5 separate regions of the Homo sapiens genome follow, and all the other regions are linked to region 2. The links are contacts of gene promoters, found by promoter capture Hi-C in blood cells and fetal thymus (Javierre and others, 2016). All regions are on one chromosome and are shown on one strand. Each heading gives the region's core, a stretch centred on a gene start or on the middle of the fragment in contact. The rest is flanking DNA. Distances are from core to core; before and after follow the strand shown.

Evidence for each region. Contacts are between HindIII fragments. The CHiCAGO score rates a contact against its expected background, and 5 or more counts as called.
Region 1: a contact is called between the fragment with the promoter of CFAP36 here and the fragment with the promoter of ACYP2 in region 2, in 8 of 17 cell types (fetal thymus, neutrophils, monocytes and 5 more). The highest score is 9.4, in fetal thymus.
Region 3: the fragment with the promoter of CCDC88A here is called in contact with the fragment with the promoter of ACYP2 in region 2 in 1 of 17 cell types (monocytes); the score reaches 5.6 in monocytes.
Region 4: the fragment with the promoter of CLHC1 here is called in contact with the fragment with the promoter of ACYP2 in region 2 in 16 of 17 cell types (fetal thymus, total CD4 T cells, total B cells and 13 more); the score reaches 33.3 in fetal thymus.
Region 5: a contact is called between the fragment with the promoter of MTIF2 here and the fragment with the promoter of ACYP2 in region 2, in 8 of 17 cell types (total CD4 T cells, fetal thymus, total B cells and 5 more). The highest score is 10.2, in total CD4 T cells.

The regions. Positions count from the first base shown.
Region 1 is chr2:55,518,468-55,521,249 of GRCh38, reverse strand. It overlaps CFAP36 (cilia and flagella associated protein 36), which reads right to left and starts at 1,532. Exons shown (of 10, transcript NM_080667.7): 1 at 1,334-1,532. The coding sequence starts at 1,448. RefSeq lists enhancers at 752-1,001, 2,182-2,231. The HindIII fragment of the contact is 7,670 bases long and covers 1-2,782 here.
Region 2 is chr2:54,114,105-54,116,925 of GRCh38, reverse strand. ACYP2 (acylphosphatase 2) reads right to left here and starts at 1,311. Exons shown (of 4, transcript NM_138448.4): 1 at 1,170-1,311. The coding sequence starts at 1,227. RefSeq lists silencers at 863-922, 1,413-1,482. The HindIII fragment of the contact is 9,756 bases long and covers 1-2,821 here.
Region 3 is chr2:55,418,490-55,421,238 of GRCh38, reverse strand. CCDC88A (coiled-coil domain containing 88A) reads left to right here and starts at 1,383. Exons shown (of 33, transcript NM_001365480.1): 1 at 1,383-2,222; 2 at 2,323-2,423. The coding sequence starts at 2,160. RefSeq lists silencers at 983-1,272, 1,333-1,382, 1,413-1,482. The HindIII fragment of the contact is 14,096 bases long and covers 1-2,749 here.
Region 4 is chr2:55,230,904-55,233,603 of GRCh38, reverse strand. CLHC1 (clathrin heavy chain linker domain containing 1) reads left to right here and starts at 1,311. Exons shown (of 13, transcript NM_152385.4): 1 at 1,311-1,381. RPS27A (ribosomal protein S27a) reads right to left here and starts at 916. Exons shown (of 6, transcript NM_002954.6): 1 at 896-916; 2 at 732-796; 3 at 187-241. The coding sequence starts at 779. RefSeq lists enhancers at 637-816, 837-1,266. The HindIII fragment of the contact is 5,653 bases long and covers 613-2,700 here.
Region 5 is chr2:55,267,798-55,270,497 of GRCh38, reverse strand. It overlaps MTIF2 (mitochondrial translational initiation factor 2), which reads left to right and starts at 1,267. Exons shown (of 16, transcript NM_002453.3): 1 at 1,267-1,329; 2 at 1,759-1,920. RefSeq lists enhancers at 406-1,229, 1,175-1,324. The HindIII fragment of the contact is 1,895 bases long and covers 1-1,696 here.

The sequences.
Region 1 (2,782 bases), core at 283-2,782, 1.4 Mb before region 2:
CCTGGGCAACAGAGCGACACTCTGTCTCCCAAAAAAAAAAAAAAAAAAGGAGTACAAATACAAGTTATTTTGTTTTTGAACATTGTTAAAAAATTACCTGTAAAAATAACACTTTAATAACTACGATTTGAATATTGATTATAGCAATGAAAATGTAATGAAAAGATTCAGTGGTCAAACTGAATTTCATCTTTACCAGATTCATGATATCTTGGAATTTAAAGAAGTCTTAAAAGGTCATCCAGGATAACCGACCATTTGATAGCTGAATAGCTGAATCCCTCTAACCCTATTAAGTCGCTATCAGATCCATTCAAACACTGCTGGAGCCGGGAAGCTCATTACCTTCTGAGGCTGGCTAACTCATCTTGGATACATTCTATCATGAAACACTTCCTTCACTGAAATTTGTTTCCCTGTAGCTTGTACCAACTGACCCTAGCTCTATTCTACTCAACCTTACAACACAAAGCAGATGTTCAAATAATTGATGAATACTACTACCCTCAAAGTCTTGCCCGATTAAACAACCACAATAACGCTTGGGCACTCATTTATATGACGTGGTTTCTGGTTCCTTTTCTGCGAATGGGCTGCAAATAGTCTCCACGAACTGAATGCAGAACTCCAAGCCTGAAGAACTGCTCAGAACCCGGAGATGCCTGTCCTTCACGGGGAATATTATGCCATATCTATACGCCTCATTTGTTCCAAGAATGGTCCTGCCCCACCTCGCCAATTTTTGGTATAGCGAAGAGTAGAGAGCTCACCAAGGGGAACACAGGCCACCAAAATCACCGGCTCTGGGCTTCCTGGAGTTATCACATGCCCTCCTTTGCAGTTAACTGTTGGTTTGGAGTGAAATCATTTCTCATTTCCTAAGCTGACTACACCGGGCGAAATGCTAGGGATCATAAGGAACTCAGGTAAACCGACGCTTCTCCTCTCAAGTCTGGCAAAGCTGTTGAAGAAGCCCAGCCAAACAGTCCACCTGCCGAGGGCAGAAACGTTCGGGACAGGGTGAGAGACCGAATTTACGATTCAAGTCTAATGTTCTTCGGACGTGCGCTTCGGCCCCAGAGAAGGGGAGTCTCGGTCCCCGTTTTCAGGTCTGCGAAGGAACACATTGGCAGGGTGAAAGGAATTCCTCCCACACAACCAGCTCTAAACCTGATGACGCGGGTGGAGAAGGTGGTGAGGGGAACGAGACCTTGCGACAGGGGTGGAGACAGGGGGTCGGGGAGACGAGAGATGGCTTGTGGTTACCAACCCCCTGCCCGCCGCTGGTGTGAGAGAGGAGAAAAGGATTGTCGGTTCGGGCTCTGGTTTTTACCTTCACATTTCTGTTCCACAAAGTCCAAGATGGGGATGGACCAGTCTGGGCCTCGCAGGAACCCCGCGATGCTCTCCACTACCCACTCCACCTCGTCTTCTTCTTCCGCAGCCATCCCGCCCCAAAGGGGCAACGGGGAAGATCCCTAGGCCAGACCGCCGGACCCCGGTTAGGCCTTTGGGCCACAAGGAGCCGAGAGGGAGTAGGGGAAGAGCTGGCCCGCAGTCGCTCAGCCCCCAGGATAGAAGCTACCAACCAGTTAATGCAAAATGGTCGCTATGGCAACACACGTAGCCGCCCTAGACCGCGGCCCGGAAGTGAAGACAACTTTCCAGGAGCCTGCGCACTTAGCGGGGAGGGCAAACGTTTGAAAAACGTTTCTGATTGGTTAAAAAAGAACAGTGGACGAGGGCTGAGAAAAGAAGTGTAGCTATTGGCTGGAAGTCATAGACAGATTGCGCTCTCTCTTCTGATAAATGCGTAGGAGCCAAGGTTTAGAAAACGCGCAGTAGACGGGCGCGGTGGCTCACGCCTGTAATTCCAGCACTTTGGGAGGCCGAGGCTTGCGGATCACCTGAGGTCAGGAGGTCGAGACCAGCTTGGCCAACATGGTGAAACCTCGTCTCTACCAAAAATACAAAAATTAGCCTGGCGTGGTGGCGCCGCCTGTAATCCCAGGTACTCGGGAGGCTGAGGCAGGAGAATCGCTTGAACCCGGGAAGCCGAGGTTGCAGTGAGCCACTGCACTGCAGCCTGGGAGACTGCGTCTCAAAAGAAAAACAGGAAGAAAGAAAAGAAAAAAGAAAAGGCTCAGTGAGGGTCTGAGGTAACCGGGTCTCCACCTGACAGGGCTTCAGCGGCTGCAGTTCATCATTGTATCCCCAGCACCTCAGTCCCAACCATTTTCAGACCATTGGCCCAGAGGCGTTTGTAATTAAAGGGTTGTCTGAAAATACAAAGCCGAGCTGTGTGAGACTCGCTGATTGTCTTACGGTCAGTTTGCATCTGTATCTTCAGGCGGGTCTTTAATCTCTTACGCTTGGATAAAGATAACTAGAATTAGGAGCTTTTCAAGGGCAAGAGCAAAGTTAATACTCACTTAAATAAATGCCTTGGTAACCAAATCTTATTATAACTCCAACTCAGCATTTAGGTGGAGTCCATTGTGGAATGGGGTCTTCAGTGGTCATTGTGAAGGTGTTTGGAGTCCCAAAATATCTTCAGACAACCATATATATATATATATTTTTTACATAAATAGGATTATATGTACAGTTATGAATTTTTTTCTTATATCTTTATCTTTTAAAAATATAAATTTGTGCTTTCTTTGCAACTGCATAGTATTCCATAAACCATCCTTTAGTCTATTTTTATTTTGTGAATGTGCACACAGTATCTTACCTGAATGCATGAAGATGATCATTATGTGCCTTTTTTTTTTTTTTT
Region 2 (2,821 bases), core at 62-2,561:
TAACCACCCTTCCTGCCAAATTATTCACCCCGCCACTTGAGCTCGTACGCCTGCTCTTTAAAATAGCCAGTCGGAATTAGCTTAGACTGTGCGGTCCAACCCTAGCCAGTAGGGGAAAGACACAGCAGTAGAGGCTACCTGCATCAGGAATAAGAACCCCTTCCCCTCCCCTGTTCAGGTGTGCCGTTGCCATTGCTTCATCCGCGAGTCGCACCCTTCTATAGAGGTAAAATTGCCTTGCTGAGAAAATTCTTTGAGCGCTAGTTCTTCTTTTTGGCACCAAAGAACCAGCATTTGTTTCTAAGAGAGCCTTATTGTCAAAGGAAATTAAGAAAAAGCATTACACTTATTCATACATGTGCATATATGTACATATACATATTGCAGAAAAGTATGATAGGGTGAGCAAAAAAAAAAAAAAAACCCTCAAGCAAAACAATGGGGTAATTCGGTGGGAAAAGTGAAATGAAAATCAAATTCAAAGAGGAAAAGAAATGAGTAAAATTTCCCATTGTTGAAGAGTTTTATTTTAAATGAAGATGGTGGATGTTAAATCACTACCCTATTTATATTCCATTGCATAAATCTCAGAGTGACTTAATATTTTCATTTATAAATATCAATATTTTCAACAAGCCAGACATTACAAACTTGGCAACTACTTAAACTTAGGATGAAACAAAAATTAGATAACAATTTCATTCTTTTAAGAGCTACAAAGAGGTCTAAAAAAAGGTTTGACCTCTGAAAAATTAACCTTAAACCATCTAAGTGTCCTTCCTAAAACTCAAGTCAAGCCCAGGTAGCTTCAGTGGCAAGCAACGAGACCACTAGTTAAAAGACCCTCTTCTTTTCCTACCCAACTTCAACATTCCCCCGTGCCGCTTACTCCCGCACCCAGCAGCCGCCCACTTCTGGTCCTCAGCAGTCCCCTGACCCCTCCTCTCCCGCTCCCCCACTTCCCTCCCCATTCCCGTACTTCCGCCCGTCCAAGTCCTCGGGCGCATGCGCGTTTCGCCTCCCTCCCCGCCGCCGCTGCTGTGTCATGGCGGAGCGGAAGTCCCAGCCACAACGGGAAAAGGCATACTTTAGGTGGGAGGCGCTTCTCACAGCTTTCTCCCCTTCCTCCCATAACCTTTTTGATCTCCCACCGTAGAGGGGCCTCCTACCCTGCACTCTTCCGAACACCTCGTAGTCCACGGATTTGAGTGACTGGGCGGTAGACATGGCGGCGGCGAGCCCTCTGTTGAGGAGCCGGAGAGGGGCTCGGGGCGCAGCGACTGCGGCGGCTGCGAGAGGGAGGGGACACATGGGACTGCTTGGCGCACCCCGCGCCTGTCACCGGTCCCGGACGCTAGCGCGCCGGGGTCACGCGTCGGAAGCGGCAAATGAGACTGCGGGGCCTGGGAGCGAGGGCAGCCGGGGACGCCAGGAGGGAAGAGGCCGCTGGGCCCCAGGCATCCTAGGCCTCTCTTCCCGGACTGGGGAGGATGCTGTCTCCACAGCGCTCCCTACCATTTAATTGATCAAGGTACTCTGTTCTCAAAGTTAGTAAATAAAAGCCGGATGCTGTGCCCAAAAAAAGAGTGGCTTCCCCCAGCTTTATTAAAGTGTAATTGACAAATAAAAGTTGGGTATATTTGTGGTGTACAAGGTGATGTTTTGACATATGTATGCATTGTGAAATGATTACATCAATGAAATTAACGTATCCATTGCACCATTTTTTAATGAAGAGAACATTTAAGATCTACTCTCATCAATTTTTAAGGACACAATACATTTATCGCAGTCACCATGTTAGACAACAGATCTTCAGAACTTATTATTCACACTAACTGAAACTTTGTACCCTTTGACCAATATCTCCCCATTTCCAACCCCTTTCATCCCCCATCCCAGGTCCCCCACCCCACTCCATCCCAGCAAGATTGGCTTTTGAAATCAAGGGCCTGCGTGTTTAGTGTTTTGAGAGTTAGTAAATTATTTATGAAATGTTTAGGTGACTACCAAGCCAGCTTTTAAGATAAGGTCTGCAACATCTTGAGCTCTTCTGTACAGTCAGGAAGGAATTGAGCCTGAACTCGTATTCTAAACGGATTGTGATATTTTCTGGGATAAGAAACTTTTTAAAAATATGAAGTCTTTTATGCTAGTGGAAACAGACAAAAGAAAAACACTGTAGTCATCTTGTCTGCTGTTCATACAGTTTTTTTGGTGTGGGTTTGTTGCTGTTGTTTTGAGACGGAGTTTCGCTCTTGTCTCCCAGACTGGAGTGCAGTAGTGCAATCTCAGCTCACAGCAGCCTCCACCTCCCAGGTTCAAGAAATTGTCCTGCCTCAGCCTTCCAAGTAGCTGGGATTACAGGCATGCGCCACCTCACCCAGCTAATTTTTGTATTTTTAGTGGAGACGGGGTTTCACCATGTTGTCCAGGCTAGTCTCAAACTCCTGACCTCAGGTGATCCACCTGCCTCGGCCTCCCAAAGTGCTGGGATTACAGGTGTGAGCCACCACACCCGACCTTTTTTTTTTTTTTTTTTTTTGATTGTCTTGATTATTCTCAGCAACATCCCAATTGCCTAGAAGGTTAAGGCTGAATTTTATTTCCTGGTGAGCTATTACCAAGTTTTAATATAAAACCATCCACCACTCCAAAGGATCTGGATACAGCTATTGATAATCTGCCACCTTCTAGAATTCCAAATCTGTTTACTTGTGAGAATTTGCATTTCTCTATTTGTTGGCCTCAATACCTTGGCATATTTCTCTGCATCTGGCCACACAGTTAAAATAATCCACTGCAATCTGATTCAATATAC
Region 3 (2,749 bases), core at 134-2,633, 1.3 Mb before region 2:
GTTCTTTATTTTGAAGGAATAATGTTAAAAACAACATTAATGACATTTATAGAACACTTAACTATAAGCTGCCATTTCATTTAACCCTATTATTAGCCCTGCTTTACACGTGACGGAATCGAAGCACAAAGAGACTCAATAACGTGCGTAGGCTCACACAGCTGGTGCATATTGGAACCAGGCAGGAAGACTTCAGAGTCCAGGTTCTCAACTACCCAATTAAGAAATTCTGCTCTTTCTTAACTGTGTTATGACAAAAACATTTTTACTGCTAATTTAAAATATATACTCCGTGTAAATATTTATGTAATGTAAACATAGCACACATTATAAAACTATAATATTATCTTTTATCAAAAAAAGATTGCGTTCTATATGCCCATTTTACCCCGGGAAAAAGGTCTTTATTTTCCTTTGAAATGAGGAGTAGCATTTGATTTTGCCAGGGAACTTAAAATTATTTCAAGGTCCCAGTCGTACGTGGCATGGAGATTTATGACAAATATGTAATCTGTTTATTTGTCACCCAACTTGGATGACTTCTAAATGTTTCTTCTTTGTAGCTCTTGATTTTGCTTGGGTTTCCCCCGACCCATGCCCAAATAGTAAAAAACAAAACAAAACCAAAAAACAATGTCTGAGTCATGTTTGCTCCAGTCAGGGAATACCAACGTGCTGACAGACAGCTCTGGTTTTTAAAAAATCTTACTGTATGTCACTTGCAACTTTGAAGAACATTCATGCGTTAGTGGACTGCATTTGGAAGAAAACAAAAAGGAGAAAAAAACCCCCACCAAGTTGTGGCTCAAGTCCCTCTGCCATTTGCTGCAGTGAGTTTTCCTATTCCATTTTGCTGGGGAGAAGGCATGCTTTACAGAACACATCAAACTGTCCGAAAAAGGCTGTCTGCATCCCTCATGTTTATAAGAGAAGGATTTCTTTCCCCTTCCTTCACGTATCAAAGAAGTCACTCGGGGAGGAAATAAACCATAATTAGGCATGAGCGAGCGAGCAGACAGACCCCTTGCTCTGCCTTCCCTGTCCCCGCCCACCAGGCAACCGTCCTGGGCGCAACCGAGGAGCGGGTTGTCTCCGCAGCAGCTGCAGCGAGCGCGCGCCCACGCCCGAGCCCGCGCCCGCCGCCAGGATCTGGGCGGCGGCGAGGCTAGCCCGGGGGCGCGCTCGCTCGGGAGCGCGCTCATGCAGCGGTTTTCTTCTCCCACAATCCAGAGGCAGCTGCACGGGAGGGGCGGGGAGTCGGCGGAAGGATATCGGCGCGGAGGGAGCAGCGCGCTCCCTTTGACGGCGGCCCCCGGCATTGGCGGGCGGCGCTGGCGGGCGGCGAGGGGTGGGGTGTGATGCGGCACTGCGGTTCTGAGGCCGTTACTCCGGCTTCTCCATAGAGGGCGGAGAAGGCTGGAGCGCGGCGGTGATTTTGTGCCAGGGATTCCCAGAGACGCGCTGAAAGGCTGGCAGGGCTTAGGAAGCTGGGGGGTTAGGGACACACATTCAAGCCCCCACCCCCGGGAGGGGAAGGGGGCTGGAGGCGAGGCTTGAGGGCGGCGGAGGAATGGTGTCTGCTCGGGGGGAAGGGGCGAGCCCTGCCTGTTGGTACTGAGGGGCTGCGGGCAGTGGAGGCTCCGCGGGTCGAAAGCGGCTCCATGCCCATCGGTGGGTGGAACGTGTAGAGGTCGGAACGCCGAGGTCGAGTCTGGTGGCGCCTCGGTATCCTTAACGTGGTCTCTGTTTAACGTATTTCATTTAGCCCCCGTTGGGATTGATTCATTGGGAGCAGTTTCGCTGGTCTGGATCCTCCAGGAGCTGGACAACCTTGACGGGCTTTTTGTCTTGGGTTCCAGCCCCCTTTCCCTTCCTCCTCCTCCAGATGCCTTTTCTCTGCCCCTCCTCGCCCGGTACAGACATTTCCAGCGCAGGCTGCTGCTCGTGGTGTCCGTCGTCGAAGCCACTTCTTGGGATTTCGGCTCGTTTCACTCTGGGGTGTTTTTTGAGGAGGGAGAGTGCCCCCCTCCTCCACGATGGGATTTTTCTCCCTTGCCGAAATGGACTTTCATTGATTTCTACTTACTTCCACGTTTAGTGACCAATTCCCTAGGCGTATTTTTGTGGTAGTTCCTTTTTTCAAATACATACTCTGTAAAATGGAGAACGAAATTTTTACTCCCCTTCTGGAGCAGTTCATGACCAGCCCTTTGGTCACTTGGGTAAGTGGGGTGTCCTTTATTGTATATTTTGCTGAGTTATTTGTGGCTGCAGAGATGGAGGTGGGCGTTCATGTCGTGGTGATCCTTCTGTTTGTTCTAGGTTAAAACGTTTGGACCTCTGGCCGCAGGAAATGGGACCAACCTTGATGAATATGTGGCTTTGGTGGATGGGGTATTCTTGAACCAGGTCATGCTCCAAATGTAAGTTCTTCCTTCTTTCCTAGGTAACGTTTTCTTTGAGAAATAGCATATGGTGAACTTTGAGACACGATGTTTTAAGCCCCTAATTTGGTTCATTGGCCAGAAATATTCAGGTGGTTTAAGAATTGGATCTTGAAAGGAATGCTAATGTTATGGGCTCAGCCCATTATCACAACCTAGATATTTTACCTGTTAAAATTGTGAAACTTTAGTTTTTCATTCTGTCAACCATGTATTGTCACTTGTCTTCAGTACTGAAATCCAAGCCACATTGTGTATTCTTTGATAATTTGGTAAAATAAGAGAGAAAATGAGAATCTGGTTTC
Region 4 (2,700 bases), core at 62-2,561, 1.1 Mb before region 2:
CACCTCAAGGATTCCAATCTAGGTACTGTGCTCCCCGATCACCAATGTCTATTGTGTTATTCCACAAGTATTTCGCTTTGTCAATCTGACCCCTTCCCCCATCACCAAGAGCAGGTATGTCTAGCACCTACAGGTAGGCCGAAGTCTCCGCAGGTTAAGTTTTCTTAACTACAAAATACTACTTGCCTTCCTTATCCTGGATCTTGGCCTTTACATTTTCTATCGTATCCGAGGGTTCAACCTATGAGTGTTAAAGTGAAAGCATGTTGGTTACACATTAAGGAACTACAGCAGAACTCATTTAGTTTGACAATTACCACTGAACCGAACCAGCGACAGGGCTGAGACCTACTCGAGAGACCTATTACCCACCCAGTGGGCAACCTCCCAAGTCGGCTACCGGAAAGCACCTTCATCTCCCCAGCCCAGAGCGGGCGGCGGCCGCAGGGCCACACGTGCTCGCACCCGGCGGGCAGAGCGTCTCCTTCCCCACCGCAGCTCCTCCGTTTTAACTAACTAGCTGGAACCCCTCGAGAGGAGACAGGTCCAGCCTTTGGCCACCGAAAATCACCTCTAGGTCGTTGCTCAGCAAAAGGTACTCATTTCAAAGCTTAAGTTTTAGAACCCAAATTCGGAATCATGGTCTAAGACATGGAAAGCAGCGCCGGTCCTAAAATCCACCTCAGGACCTTATTCGGACCTTGGCTTCCTCATGACCACCCGGCCCGTACCTCGAGGGTGATGGTCTTCCCCGTAAGGGTTTTCACGAAAATCTGCATTTTGGTGGCGGCTCCACCTGAGGTTGAGGAAAAGGAAGAGACAGGTTAGGTCAGGGATCACAAGAGAAGGCACCATAGGGTGCTAACCCGAGAGCAGCCGAAGTGCAGACACCCACCGCAGATGGCGGATCGAAAAGGAAGAACGCCGCGCAGGCCCACGGGGTTTCCCGGAGCTCCCGCCGAAGGACCCACCCCTTAGGCGACCACACCAAATGCCTGACTGCCGTCCCAGCGACAATCCAACCCGGTGCCAGACTAGGACGTGAACTTCGTTTCTCCTCTCCCTAGCCTGGGCTTATTTCTCACTTTAGCCTTCGGAATGCTTTCGAAACTGTAGGTTTAAGCAACGTAAAAGATGTTTTAAAAAGGCTTTTCCCGTACAATCAACGTGGCTAAGAGAATTTTTAAAAGGAGGTCGAGGGGGGCCTCTTGGGGAAGAGGTAGGAAATGGAAGTGCATTCTGGGAACTGTAGTTCTCCACTGCTTTCTTCTACCTTGGACTACTTGTCCCAAGATGCAGTTCCACCTCCCAGATTCCCTAGTTACTATCTCTAAGCACTGAAGTCGGTGTTTGGAGAAAAGGACTCAGGTGAGGACTGGAGGTAGGATGAAGCGGAATAATGGTTTCCGGAGCGTGGGAACGGGCCGGAAGTGACTAGAGCAAATGTTAAGCGGGGGGCAAAGGGTGCGGGGCACGAAAGGTGTCCTTCACTCACTTCCAGAAGCGGTGATGGGCAGAGAATCAGCAATCTACCAGACGCTCCTTGGGCCTTCAAGGGAAGGGAATTTGCGTGGCCTGCTCCAGGCAAACTGAAAAATAGGTGAAATCTGCGGAAGCGGGGGTTCAGCCCTTTCTCTCCTGTAGCGCCTCCCTGCTTTCAACCGCCGAGTCTCTCCCAGCCTAGGGAAGAGTCTGGGTCTTGTGTGTCACTCCTTAGTGTGACACGCTTTAATATGTTGAAAAATCTCAGGAGTTTTCAAATTTTAAAGTGAAGCCGTACGGAAAAGAAACCTGCAGAATGGTTATTTAGTTGTAGAATTTCCAAATTTGGGCATTGGGAGTCTTGGATCTGAGAGGAAGTTTTTGGAGTATGTATGGGGTGCTTCTTCCGGCAAGGAGGCCAATTAGAAGCAAGTTCTCCCTGTCCTTTCTCCACTCCACAAACCAGAGTCCTTTCTAATGTCTTCTGTATTTATTTCTTCATCCTCTGCCCTCTGCGACCCCATCCCCAAATTCAGACCTTAATTTTCTCTTGTAGGGGTTCCGAATCTAACTCCTTATCTCTCTCCAGTCTTTCCTCCTTTCTAACCCACCTTCACTATTGCCTCCAAAATATTCATTCTGAAAGGTAAATGTGTGTTATTATTTTATACCTCACCTTCAGGATACAATTCAAATTTCTTAGAATGACATTCAGCCTCTGCCTTCCTTACAACCTAATCTGCTAAACCCATTACTCTACATTTTAGTAAATGAAGCTAATTTAATTTCCTGACCTATGCCCTCCCGTGTTTTGGCATTTCTGAAGAATCCAGTCGTTTATTCTTCCTGGAACTTTTTTTTTTTTTTTTCGTGAGACGGAATTTCGCTCTGTTGCCCAGGCTGGAGTGCAGTGGCGCGGTCTCGGCTCACTGTAAACTCCGCCTCCCAGGTTCAAGCAATTCTTCTGCCTCAGCCTCCCGAGTAGCTGGGATTACAGGCGCCCACCACCACACCCGGCTAATTTTTGTATTTTTAGTAGAGATGGGGTTTCACCATGTTGGCCAGGCTGTTCTCTAGCTCCTGACCTCAAATGATCCATCCTCCTTGGCCTCCCAAAGTGGTGAGATTACAGGCGTGAGCCACCACGCCCTGCCTCCTGGAACATTTTTCATCCCCTAGTCCGCCAACTAGTCTCTACAACAAAATTTCCTAGAGTTG
Region 5 (2,700 bases), core at 18-2,517, 1.2 Mb before region 2:
GGTTGCAATGAGCCGAGATCGCGCCATTGTGCTCCAGCTTGGGCGACAGAGTGACACTGTCTCAAAAAAAACAAAAAACAGTCTGGGAGAGGTGGCTAACGCCTGTCATCCCAGCACTTTGGGAGGCCGATGTGGGCGGATCATCTGAAATAGGGAATTCGAGACCAGCCTGACCAACATGGAAAAACCCTGTCTCTACAAGAAACACAAAATTAGCCAGGAGTGGTGGCACATGCCTGTAATCCCAGCTACTCGGGAGGCTGAGGCAGGAGAATCGCTTGAACCCGGGAGGCAGAGGTTGCGGTGAGCTGAGATCGTGCCATTGCACTCCGGCCTGGGCAACAAGAGCGAAACTCCATCTCAAAAACAAATAGAAACAAAAACACAACAAAAACCTTATTACAATCCTGTGAACTAGCTACTGTCATTACTATAATGTAGATGAACAAACTGGGACATGGACAGTTGACAAAACATTCCCAACCACACACTAGGAATGAGCTGGGATAGGAAACCAGGCACTCTGGCTCTATTACTCCTAATGCCATACACACGAGCTGACTTAGGAGAAAACAGAAAGTACTGTTCGCACAATACTAACTGGTTCTACCGCCACTGTTCGCTTGCATTTGTTTTTTCCTTCTTGTTAGGAACACGTATCTTTGAAGGAGGTATCATTTCTCCCACAATTCTCCATTTAACGTTTCCTACAGTGTTAAGCACCACCGAGGCCTCTCATAGCCCCAGAGAAGAAGTAATTTGCTTCCTAGAAATCCTCACTGTATCCAGATTCCCTCCCAGAGGAGCCATCAGTTCTCATGGGTGGCACTTTTTCTCCAGCTGATTACACTTTTTTTCTGTACCAGTTAATTTTTCCAACTTCTAATTGAATAAAGGCAGTTTTCTTAAAAAAAAAAAAAAGAGAAAGAAAAACGGAAAGGAAGGAAGAGGAAAGGAAGGAAGAAATGAAGAAAGGAAGGAAGGAAAGAAAGGAGAGGGACAGAAAGAAAAAAAGGAAAGAGAGAAAGAAAGGAAAGGAAAGTAAGAAATGGAAGGGACCTGCAGAAACGATTCACCACGCGCGGCTGACCCTGGGAGGAGCCACAGGTTGAACCAGCGCCTCCCAGGCTGGACGCCCGCCGCGGACACCGCAGACAGTCCCACCCCCAGCGGCGACAGCAACTCTCTGAATTCCGGAAAGAACCTTTTCCAGCGGGACCGGAAGCCCGGCGGGGACCGTAGCGGGGACGGACTGACCTACCGACCATTCTTCCGGGTCCAGAAGGTGATCTCCGCCCGTGCTCAGAATCCAGGGGCCCGGGGCTGTAGGTAGGAGTTAAGTGGGTAGGATCCCTTAACCAGGGTTGTCCGGTGCAGGTGGTGTGTGTTGTTTCGCCTAACGTGTCAGTGGCACAAATCACGCGAACTTCATAAACATTGTGCGTTCGGAAGCCTTTCCAAGATGCATTTAATCCCTGCGTGAGCCCACGTTAGGCATTCACGAAGGCATGTGCACTGTTCTCTCGGAAGCGGCTGGCCGGCTTCCCCTCCTCGCGCGCGGCTGTGGGTGCAGGTCCTCACTTCCCAGCCTCCCATGGGCCCAAGGCCTTCTGGGCTCCAATTTGAGGCGAGCCACCCCAGATCCGTAATTTTTCTGCAGTGATTTATTTTTACCTTTCTGGTAAGTTCCAAAGCTTCCAGCTCACATTCAGACGTTTTCCCTAACGCAACTACGTATTTGCAACATACTTTTTTCAGATTCCTTGACAAGGATATCCTAGCGGCGAAACAACACCGTACTGGGAGTCAGAACGTCTGGGTTCTAGTCTTGACTGCCATTAACTAGCGGTATGACATTGGAGAAGCTTTTTTGACCCTTCTGGATTTCCGTTTCCTTTTCTGTAAAATGAGGAGCTTGGAGTAAGTGACAAGTTTCCTTCCAGTTTTGACATTTGGGTTATTGCCTCCAATGTGTCTTTCCAGTTCCTGCCTCAATTACATATCTGTGCTTTGGTTAATATCTCGTAGGGTCCTTCCTCCCACTCCATTAATCTGTGCTCTTCTCAAATCTGGTTTCATACTGATTTAAAAATTATTTTCTCAAGGAATCCTGTGTTACCTGAGCACTCTACTTCTTGGTCCAGGGGCACAAACGTAAATAAGATATTTTCCATGTGCCATTCTTAGAAGTATTTAATGTGTGTAAATACTATTGAATGAATTTCCAAATCTTCTTTTTTTTTTCTTTAGACAGAGTCTCACTGTCGCCCAGGCTGGAGTGCAGTGGCCTGATCTCGGCTCACTGCAGTCTCTGCCTCCTGGGTTCAAGCGATTCTCCTGCCTCAGCCTCCCAAGTCGCTGGGATTACAGGCGCCCGCCACCGTACCCGGCTAATTTTTGTACTTTTAGTAGAGAGGGGGTTTCACCATGTTGGCCAGGCTGGTCTCGAACTCCTGACCTCAGGTGATCCGCCCGCCTCGACCTCCCAAAGTGCTAGGATTACAGGCATGAGCCATCACGCCCAGCCTGAATTTCTAAATCTTAATGTGTTTATTTCGTTGGCATTAAGTTAGATTTTTCCTTGATCTTTACTCGAATAAGCCTTTTAAGGTAAAATGCTTGCTCGATTACACACACATACACAACCTCATAATTGTCCGAAGGTAAACAAGTTAATGACTTGTGAATATTTTTAACTTA